Regions from separate parts of the Homo sapiens genome. Here region 1 is linked to region 2. Evidence: promoter capture Hi-C in human tissues and cell types (Jung and others, 2019). All regions are on one chromosome and are shown on one strand. The core of a region is centred on a gene start or on the middle of the fragment in contact, and the rest is flanking DNA. Distances in the headings are between cores, read along the strand shown.

Evidence for each region. The method cuts DNA at HindIII sites, captures the fragments that hold promoters and counts their contacts. A contact is called where the count stands out against the background at its distance.
Region 1: a contact is called between a fragment that was not itself captured here and the fragment with the promoter of PVRIG in region 2, in 1 of the 25 tissues and cell types used here (adrenal gland).

Annotation. Positions count from the first base shown.
Region 1 is chr7:100,273,519-100,278,852 of GRCh38, forward strand. No RefSeq gene overlaps it. Among named protein-coding and RNA genes, the nearest start is that of SPDYE3, 32 kb to the right of the region's middle. The HindIII fragment of the contact is 4,585 bases long and covers 856-5,334 here.
Region 2 is chr7:100,218,345-100,223,728 of GRCh38, forward strand. It overlaps PVRIG (PVR related immunoglobulin domain containing), which reads left to right and starts at 1,605. Exons shown (of 5, transcript NM_001397246.1): 1 at 1,605-1,684; 2 at 1,770-2,120; 3 at 2,203-2,329; 4 at 2,416-2,476; 5 at 2,584-3,146. The coding sequence starts at 1,627. The coding sequence ends at 2,907. It also overlaps a transcript of STAG3 not described here and the pseudogene CASTOR3P. RefSeq lists enhancers at 1,495-1,624, 1,685-1,754, 3,145-3,244, 3,265-3,364 and a silencer at 2,675-2,724. The HindIII fragment of the contact is 32,066 bases long and covers 1-5,384 here.

The DNA of each region.
Region 1 (5,334 bases), core at 1,898-4,397, 57 kb after region 2:
ACTCTAAATACAGATCGAGTATTGTGAATGAAAATTGAGCATCCAAACTGAGATGTGCTATCGTGTAAAATGAACCCTGGATTGCAAAGATTATTATGAAAAAACTTTATTTTATTAATAATTTAAAAATATTGATTATATGTTGAAACACTTTTTTTTTTTTCTGAGATGGAGTCTCACTGTGTCACCCAGGCTGGAGTACAGTGGCGCAATCTTGGCTCACTGCAACCTCTGCCTCCTGTGTTCAAGTGATTCTCCTGCCTCAGCCTCCTGAGTAGCTGAGATTACAGGCATGCGCTACCACGCCCAGCTAATTTTTTTATAGCAGAGACAGGGTTTCACTGTGTTGGCCAGGCTAGTCTGGAACCCCTGACCTCAAGTGATCTGCCCGCCTCGGCCTCCAAAGTGTTGGGATTACAGGCATGAGCCCCCACACCGGCCTTTTTTTTTTTTTTTTGAAATGGAGTCTTGCTCCCTCGCCCAGGCTGGAGTGCAGCAGCACGATCTTGGCTCATTGCAACCTCTGCCTCCCGGATTCAAGCGATTCTCCTGCCTCAGCCTCCTGAGTACAAGTGCGCATCATCATGCCCAGCTAATTTTTGTATTTTTGGTAGAGACGGGGTTTCACCATGTTGACCAGGCTTGTCTCGAACTCCTGACCTCAGGTGATCTGCCTGCCTCAGCCTCACAGAGTGCTGGGATTACAGATGTGAACCACTGTGCCTGGCCAAAATGCTAATATTTTGGCAGCACTTTGGGAGGTCGAGGCAGGCGGATCACTTGAGTTCAGGAGTTTGAGACCAGCCTGGCCAACATGGTGAAACCAAACCCCACCTCCACTAAAAATACAAAAAAATTAGCTTGGTGTTGTGGCGGGCACCTATAATCCCAGCTATTTAGGAGGCTGAGGCAGGAGAATTGCTTAAACCTGGGAGGCAGAGGTTGCAGTGAGCCGAGATCATGCCACTGCACTCCAGCCTGGGCAACAGAGTGAGACTCTGTCTCAAAAAAAAAAAAAAAAAAAAAAAAAGCAGAGTGAAGTCAGCACCCAATTCAACATGGCAGGTTCTAGAGAGGTTCAAATCATGATGGGGCAGGGTGCGATGAGGGGAGGTCCCTTCTGTTACAGGCTACTGTTAGTCCACACTTCGTCTGACCTAGTGGCCTTCTGTGCATGGCGGCCACCCAGCATAGATTTTGATGATTTCCCATGTCACAAGCCCTGTCTTCACAAGGTGAGCTTCTGCAGCCTCCCTGTGGCTAAGATGCAGGCACATCACACCTGTGTATGGCTCAGGTTCAGAAGTGAGCAAAAGGTGCATGGATGGGATTTCAGAGAAGGCAGCAGGGATTTGTCTGGTAACAATTACTATATACTACATAGCTCACACTTAGTGGAGAAAAATGACAAAATAGCCCGGTGCAGTGGCTTATGCCTCTAAGCACGGTGGCTCATGCCTGTAATCCCAACAACTTGGGAGGCTGAGATGGGAGGATTGCTTGAGACCAGGAGTTTGTGACTAGCAAGATCCTGTCTTAAAACATTAAAAAAAAAAAAAAAAAAGCTGGGGATGGTGGCACATGCCTGTTGTCCCAACTACTTGGGAGGCTGAGGCAGGAGAATCACTGGAACTGAGGAGTTCAAGGCTGCAGTGAGCTGTGATAGCACCACTGCACTGTTGTCTGGGCAGCCAGGCAGGACCCTGTCAAAAAGAAAGAATGAAAGAAAAGAAAGACAAAAGAAAGAAATGAAAAGCCAAAGAAAGAAAAGAAAGATGAAAGAAAGAAAGAAAAGAAAGATGAAAGAAAACAAGAGAGAGAGAGAAAGAGAAAGAAAAAGAAAGAAAGAAAAAGAAAGAGGAAGAAAGAAAAAGCAGGAAGGAAGGAAAATAGGAAATGACATTATATTAACTCATGAATTCTTTTTTTTTTTTTTTTTTTGAGATGAAGCCTCACTCCATCACCCAGGCTGGAGTGCCGTGGCACAATCTCAGTCACTGCAACCTCCGCCTCAAGCAATTCTCATGCCTCAGCCTTCCGAGTAGCTGGGATTACAGGTGCACACCACCATGCCCAGTTAATTTTTTTGTATTTTTAGTAGAGATGGGGTTTCACCATGTTGGCCAGGCTGGTCTCAAAGTCCTGATCTCAGATGATCTGCCTGCCTCGGCCTCCCAAAGTGCTGGGAGAATTCTACTTTTTTTTTTGAGACAGGGTCTCACTCTTACCCAGGCTGGAGTGCAGTGGCGTCATCACGGTTCCCTGCAGGCTCAAGCGATCCTCCTATCTCAGCCTCACAAGTAGCTGGGTCTACAGGCACACACCACCACACCTGGCTAATATTTGTATTTTTTGGTAGAGATGGGGTTTCATCATGTTGCCCAGACTGGTCTCAAACTCCTGATCCCAAGTGATTCTCCCACCTCTGCCTCCCAAAGTGTTAGAATTACAGGTGTGGGCCACCGTGCCTGGCCTGAACTCACGAATTCTATAGGTTGTGAATTCAGACAGGGCCTGTGAGAAGTTTGTCTTTGCTCTGTGGTATCTGGCCTTTACTTGGAAAGGCTTGAATGCTGGCGGTGATTTGGATGCCTGGGGGCTGGGGTTGCCTGGAAGCTTCTTTACTCTGTGTCTGAAGCCTGGTTGATGGGTGCCTCTCTCCATGGGGCTAGGGCTTCTCACAGCTTGGCAGCTGGATTCCCAGAGAGGACATTGCAGGGAGAGTCTGGAGAGCAAATGTGCCAAGAAAGTCAGCTGGAAGCCACATGGCCTTTTATGACTTAACCTCAGAAATCAAGCTGGGTGCGGTGACTGCTGGATGCGGTGGCTCAAGCCTGTAATCCCAGCCCTTTGAGAGGCTGAGTTGGGCGGATCATTTGAGACCAGGAGTTTGACACCAGCCTGGCCAACATGGTGAAACTCTGTCTCTACTAAAAATACAAAAATTAGCTGGGTGTGGTGGTGCGTGCCTATAATCCCAGCACTTTGCGAGGCTGAGGCGGGCAGATCACTTGAGGCCAGGAGTTTGACGCCAGCCTGGTCAAGATGGTGAAACTCTGTCTCTGCTAAAAATACAAAAATTAGCCAGGCGTGCTGGTGCATGTCTACAGTCTCAGCTACTCGGGAGCTGAAGCATGAGAATTGCTTGAACCCAGGAGGCAGAGGTTGCAGTGAGCCGAGATTGTGCCACTGCACTCCAGCCTGGGCAACGGAGCAAGACTCCATCTCAAAACAACACACAAAAAAAGAAATCATAGGGATGTCACCTGCATGGTATTCTCTGGGTTGAAACAGGTGCAACCCCAGCTTGAGTTAGGGGAGGGGGCTGATATAGTCTGAATATTTGTCCCCTCTAAATCTCGTGTTGAAATGTGATCCCCAATATTGGAGATGAGGCCAAGTGGGAGGTGTTTGGGTCATGGGGGCAGATGCCTCATGAATGGCTTGGTGCCCTCCCTGTGGTAATGAGTGAATTCTTGCTCTATTCACATGAGAGCTGGATCTTTAGAAGAACCTGGCATGTCTGTTGCTCACCACGTGATCTTGTCGGCCCGCCTTCATCTTCCACTATGATAGGAGGCTTCCTGCGGTCCTCACTAGCAGCAGATGCTGGCACCATGCTTCTTGCACAGCCTGCAGAACCACGAGCCAAATACACCTCTTTCCTTTATAAATCACCCAGCCTCAGGTATTCCTTTATAGCAACAAAAATAGATTAAGACAGGGTCATAGACCCTGCTTCTTGATGGAGGAGTGACAAAGTTACTTTGTGGAAGAGCATGTTGGATGAAGTTACTATTGCAGCCATTTTGGGAAAATACAACTCGCCATTTAGAAACGTGAAGTCCTGGAGAAGGTGTGGCTGTGGAAGCTGCCACAGCTTCATTTTCTTTCTGCCTGCCTGCCTGCCTGCCTGCCTCTCTCCCTCTCTCTCTCTTTTTTTTTTGAGACAGAGTCTCGCTCTGTTGCCCAGGCTGGAGTTCAGTGGTGTGATCCTGGCTCACTGCAATCTCCGCTTCCTGGATTCAAGTGATTCTCATGCCTTAGCCTCCCAAGTAGCTGGGACTACAGGCGCCCACCACCACACCCAGCTAATTTTTGTATAGTAGAGATGGGGGTTCACCATGTTGGCTAGGCTGGTCTCGAACTCCTGACCTTAAGTGATCCACCCACCTCAGCCTCCCAAAGTGCTGGGATTACAGGCGTCAGCCACTGTGCCTGGCCCACAGCTTCATTTTCTTATCAGGCCAGTTCTGCCCCACGGTGCTGGGTAAGGGTCCTAGAACTTTAAGCCTAGACTTTATTTCTTCAGCTTTCCAAAAGATCCTGTTCTCTTTTCAATGTTTTAAAATTAAGCTTTTTGGCCAGGTACTATAGCTCATGTCTGTAATCTCTGCACTTTGGGAGGCCAAGGTGGGAGGATCGCTCGAGGCCAGGAGTTTGTGACAAGTTTGGCCAATACAGTGAAACCTTGTCTCTATAAAATAAATAAATAAAATAAGGCTTGTTATCTTAAGATAATTGTAGATTCACTTGCAATTGTAAGAGATTATTACCCAGAGAGCCCTCGTGCCCTTCATGCAATTTCCCCCAACGGTAACAGCTTGCAAAACTAGAGTACAATCTCACAACCAGGAAATTGCCTTCAATACCATCCACTGAACTTACCCAGGTTCTATCAGTTTTACATGTAATTGTGTGTGTGTGTTTAGTTCCATGCAATTTACTCAGTGCTCTAAAAATAGACTCTTCATCTTACAATGTTTTTAAATTTACAGAAAAATTGTTAAGACAGTAGGATTCTCATATATCCTGTACCATTTCCCCCTTTTATTAACATCTTGCACTGGTATAGTATATTTGTTACCGTTAATGAACTGAAGTTAATACATTGTAATTAACTGAAGTCCATACTTTAGTTAGACCTCCTTAATTTTTACCAATTTCCTTTTTCTTTTCTTTTTCTTTTTTTTTTTTTTTTTTTTGAGACAGAGTTTCACTCTTGTTGCCCAGGCTGGAGTGCAATGGCGCAATCTTGGCTCACTGCAACCTCCGTCTCCCCGGTTCAAGGGATTCTCCTGCCTCAGCCTCCCGAGTAGCTGGGATTACAGGCATGCGCCACCACCCCGGCCAATTTTGTATTTTTAGTAGAGACGGGGGTTTCTCCATGTTGGTCAGGCTGGTCTTGAACTCCCGACCTCAGGTGATCCACCCACCTCAGCCTCCCAAAGTGATGGGATTATAGGTGTGAGCCACCGTGCCCGGCCCAATTTCCTTTTTCTGTCCGAAGATCCCATCCATGACACCATGTGACATTTAGTAGTAATGTCTTCT
Region 2 (5,384 bases), core at 355-2,854:
AATCTATTTCTAGTATAACTATTCTTATTCTATGTATTTTCTTTATTATACTGGAACAGCTTGTGCCCTCGGTCTCTTGCCTTGGCAGCTGGGTGGCTTGCCTCCCACATGGCACTGCTGGGCATTGTCTGTTAATATTGAATAATTGTTTTAAGATTATTTTCAATAAGGCTTTACCTTTTTTAACTTGCACTGTGGCCATGAGCTCTGCTGGAAGTGACTTGTTGGTGTTATCTCCTCAGTTATAAAGTGAAGGGATTTTTCTTTTTCAGATTACTGAGAGTCTTCCGTTACTAGGTAAGTCACCGCATCCTTATAACTCCAGGTGACACTGACTGGGGTTTATGGGATGAAAGAGGAGTGTGTGCTTGGATGATGGGGTGTGATAGTGAAGGGGTGAAAGGTTTCTTCTCACACATAGACATCGTGAGGTCTTCCTTGAGCTCTTTAGAGCCTTCCCTCGGGATAGGATGAAATACTGAGATCCTAGAAAGGATTCACAAAACGTGTCACTCATCAGCGCAGATTCACCGATTCACCCCTAGATGTGTGTGGGATTTGGATGGCAGAGAGAAACAGGCACTGAAGATTTTTGGTCAGGACAGGGCAGAGAAATAAGAAGAGTTGAAAATTCACCAAAGGATAGATAAACCCAGGGCGTTTAGAGAAAACCTGTAGTGTGCAAAGGAGCCCAGAATCCTGGGGCAACTTGGAGGGAAATATACTTAATTTGATTCACTAAGTTAGGCCCAGTGAAGGGATTGGGTGGCATAGGTAGAAGCCGAAAAATAAAGTATCTTGTATTGCTGGAGTAGCCTCTGTTTCTGAGGTCACATCCAAACTTAGCGAGGCAGCTTAACCTGGTGAGAGACATGGGTTCAACTCCTGGCTTCTGCACTGCTAGGGCAGAGGACTGCTGTTTGCTGACACAATCTTGGTGCGTTGGAAGTGAAAGGGAAGAGGCACTGGTGGCTGTGCTTTGGGCCCGAGCAGCCAGAAGCCAGTTGCCATCACCTATGACGAGGAGACAGCGCCTGGGGCAGAGCCCAGTATGGGGTGCGTTCAGGGTAGATCAGGAGGTATGAGTGGGTAGTGGGCGAGCCAGGCTGGGGGTTGTGGGGGAGGCCTGCATTGCAGGTGTAAGCGTGGGACCCACATCAGATTGGTAGTGGGTCATGCATGCTGGGCTGGCTCTCAGGTCCTCCCTGCTGGCTTCCCACTCCCAGGGGCTTTCTCCTCCGATTCCTTAGCTGGGTGAGGGGCGGGACAGAGCCCTTTCTTAGGGAAGCCCGGCACCCCTTGCTGTCCAGGGAAGGGGAGTCCTTCTAGCCCCTGACAGCTTCTCTGCCCCTCCCCTGGCCTCCCCAGGCCTAGCCAGGGCTGGGTTCTCACCCACCTGTGCCGCCCTGCCTTGTTACCTGGAAGCACAGCCTTGGGGACTGAGCAGGCCCTCACTGTCACTTTAAGAAGGGAATCAGCCACTTTGTGCTCACCACCTCTGGGGAAGGTGTGAGAGGAGAGAAGGAAGTGGCTGTTTGGCTGCTGACAACATGAAGACTTCCTGCGATGAGAACAGAGGCACAGGTGCCGGCCCTGCAGCCCCCAGAACCTGGACTGGAGGGGGCCATGGGGCACCGGACCCTGGTCCTGCCCTGGGTGCTGCTGACCTTGTGTGTCACTGCGGGTGAGTGCCGGCACCAGAGAGGGGCAGGGGCTGCAGGGAGGGTGATGTAGGACAACAGCCCACCGACCTTGCTGCTGTTCCACAGGGACCCCGGAGGTGTGGGTTCAAGTTCGGATGGAGGCCACCGAGCTCTCGTCCTTCACCATCCGTTGTGGGTTCCTGGGGTCTGGCTCCATCTCCCTGGTGACTGTGAGCTGGGGGGGCCCCAACGGTGCTGGGGGGACCACGCTGGCTGTGTTGCACCCAGAACGTGGCATCCGGCAATGGGCCCCTGCTCGCCAGGCCCGCTGGGAAACCCAGAGCAGCATCTCTCTCATCCTGGAAGGCTCTGGGGCCAGCAGCCCCTGCGCCAACACCACCTTCTGCTGCAAGTTTGCGTCCTTCCCTGAGGGCTCCTGGGAGGCCTGTGGGAGCCTCCCGCCCAGCTCAGACCCAGGTGGGGCCGGGGCGAGGGGTCCAGGAGGGCAGGGAGGGGCTCGGGAACTGGCCACCCATCTGATTCTTGTCTCCGTGCCCAGGGCTCTCTGCCCCGCCGACTCCTGCCCCCATTCTGCGGGCAGACCTGGCCGGGATCTTGGGGGTCTCAGGAGTCCTCCTCTTTGGCTGTGTCTACCTCCTTCATCTGCTGCGCCGACATAAGCACCGGTGAGACCTGGTCCCTGTCCACGTCCCCCTGACACTGGGATGGCCACATGCCCTGCAGAGCTCTGACCATCCTTGCTCTCTCCCAGCCCTGCCCCTAGGCTCCAGCCGTCCCGCACCAGCCCCCAGGCACCGAGAGCACGAGCATGGGTGAGGAGGGGACCTGCTTTGGGGATGAGGTGACAGGGGCAGGGGCAGGGGGGCCAGGGCTGGGCCCAAGCTGTGCAGACTCACTTGACCCTCCTTCCCCCGCGCAGGCACCAAGCCAGGCCTCCCAGGCTGCTCTTCACGTCCCTTATGCCACTATCAACACCAGCTGCCGCCCAGCTACTTTGGACACAGCTCACCCCCATGGGGGGCCGTCCTGGTGGGCGTCACTCCCCACCCACGCTGCACACCGGCCCCAGGGCCCTGCCGCCTGGGCCTCCACACCCATCCCTGCACGTGGCAGCTTTGTCTCTGTTGAGAATGGACTCTACGCTCAGGCAGGGGAGAGGCCTCCTCACACTGGTCCCGGCCTCACTCTTTTCCCTGACCCTCGGGGGCCCAGGGCCATGGAAGGACCCTTAGGAGTTCGATGAGAGAGACCATGAGGCCACTGGGCTTTCCCCCTCCCAGGCCTCCTGGGTGTCACCCCCTTACTTTAATTCTTGGGCCTCCAATAAGTGTCCCATAGGTGTCTGGCCAGGCCCACCTGCTGCGGATGTGGTCTCTGTGTGTGCGTGTGTGGGCACAGGTGTGAGTGTGTGAGTGACAGTTACCCCATTTCAGTCATTTCCTGCTGCAACTAAGTCAGCAACACAGTTTCTCTGATGTCGGCCTCGGCTGTGCTTCTTCTTTGGGGGTGAAGAGAGTGGGGAGGCAGTCTCCACCCCTGGGAGGCAGAAGCCAGGTGAGAACCAGAGTGGGTTGGGGCCTCATTGCAGGGCTGGGGTTGGCCCAGGGAGAGGGCAGTGTCCCAATCTTAGAGATCTGTCCTGGCTTCTCAGAGTGGCAGGGGTGTTGGGGGAGCTTCCTGAGGGACACCTGTGGCTGCCTAGATAGGGCTGGGGGATCCCAGTGGGATGGTCTCTGCTCCAATCCCACCATGTTCTAGGACAACAGCAAGGGTTCCTGGGGCTTTGGCCTGAGAGAAGTCCCTGTGGTTTGACCTGGCTTCCCTCTGCTGGGCTCCCTGCTGTGGCCTGGGCTGGGGTCCTGATGCCCTCCTTCCACAGCTGGCGTTAGGCAGGGTGTGGAGAGTAGGGGGACTCACCTGAAATCTTCCCTCAATCACTTCCCCCGCCTCCTCTCGGGGAAGGCAGAGGCCTTCACAGACATGGGGGACTCCCCACAAAATGTTCCATCCAGAGCCAACCTTTCTGCTTGGTAGAGCTGTGTCTCCCCCTCAGCCTAGTTCCAGGGCGGGTCCGTGTCTCCCACCCCAAACTAGTTCCAGGGTGGGTCCCTGTCTCCCACCTCAGACCAGCTTTGGGGCTGGTCCGTGTCTCCCCCTTCAGACTATCTCTGGGGCAGGTCCATGTCTCCCACCTCAGACTAGCTCCAGGGCAGGTCTGTGTCTCCCCATTTAAACTAGCTCTGGGGCGGGTCCGTGTCTCCCCCATCAGACTAGCTCCGGGGCGGGTCTGTGTCTCCCACCTCAGACTAGCTCCAGGGCAGGTCCATGTCTCCCACCTCAGACTAGTTCTGGGGCGGGTCTTTGTCTCCCCGCTCAGACTAGCTCTGGAACGGGTCCTTGCCTTCCCACTCAGATTAGTTCCGGGGTGGGTCCATGTCTCCCCGCTCAGACTAGCTCCAGGGAAGGTCTGTGTCTCTTCCCTCAGATGAGCTCCTGGCAAAGCCTCCCCCGTCAGACTAAGACTCCTAGGCAGAGCCGTGCCTCCCCCTGGTCCAGCCGGCGACCCCTCATGCCCAAGGCAGCCCTACCCATTGAAGTAGGACATGACATCCATGAGGAGTGTGGCAACAGCAGGCAGCGTGTCGGGGTCCAGGCTGGTGACACAGAACCTGTTGCTCGGGCTGGACAGTGGGTGGATGACCGGCATCTGGACTGTAAGAGCACAAAGATGTCAGGCACTGAGGCTGGGACTGAAAGCAGCAGCTCTGGTGAGTGCAGGGCCTGGGAAGAGGGCTGGGGAGGGCTCAGCCGCAGGCCCTGAGAGACTCATTCACTGCTGCTTCTCCAGCCTCTACCACCAATTACCACCGTCCTGATTCTCCATCTCACTCTCAGGCCCCTGGGCCTTTGCACATGCTGTGCTGGCTGCCTGGGATGCCCTTCCCAACTGGCACCACCTGGCCCCGTTCCTACCTGTGTTCCAGGCTTCAGCACCACAGTCCCTGCCCAGGGAAACCCACCCTGACACCTGGGATTGCAGCAGGAGTGGCCTCTGGCCATTGCTGTATGCATGCACGTCCACCACCCTTGCTAGACATGGCAGCAGGGCCTGCCCAGGACCTTTCCATCACATTTTTTTTTTTTTGAGATGGAGTTTTGTTCTTGTTGCCCAGACTGGAGTGCAATGGCACAATCTCGGCTCACCGCAACCTCCGCCTCCTGGGTTCAAGTGATTCTCCTGCCTCAGCCTCCTCAGTAGCTGGAATTACAAATATGCACCACCACACCCAGCTAATTTTGTATTTTTAGTAGAGACCAGGTTTCTCCATGTTGGTCAGGCTTGTCTCAAACTCCTGACCTCAGGTGAATTGCCTGCCTCGGCCTCCCAAAGTGCTGGGTTTACAAGCATGAGCCACCACACCTTGCCCTTTGCATCCCGTTCTGCCTGGCACTCCATTCATGCTCAGTGGGCAGAAGCCCGTGCTGAGAGCAAGGCTGGTCTACGGCTTGGCCTGGTAACTTCGTGAGGTTTCCCCGCACAAACCCCCGCCCCCAGCTCACCCAGCTTGGGCTTCACGAAGCCACTGGTGATGCCGAGGTTCTCGGCTGCTACAGTCTAGCCACTGACCACAGGATGGTGAACTCTGATGACAACGTGTGGGTGACAAAGGGCAGGTCCCGCTTGAGCACCTAGGGGCAAGAAGTTGAGGCTGTGTGTGC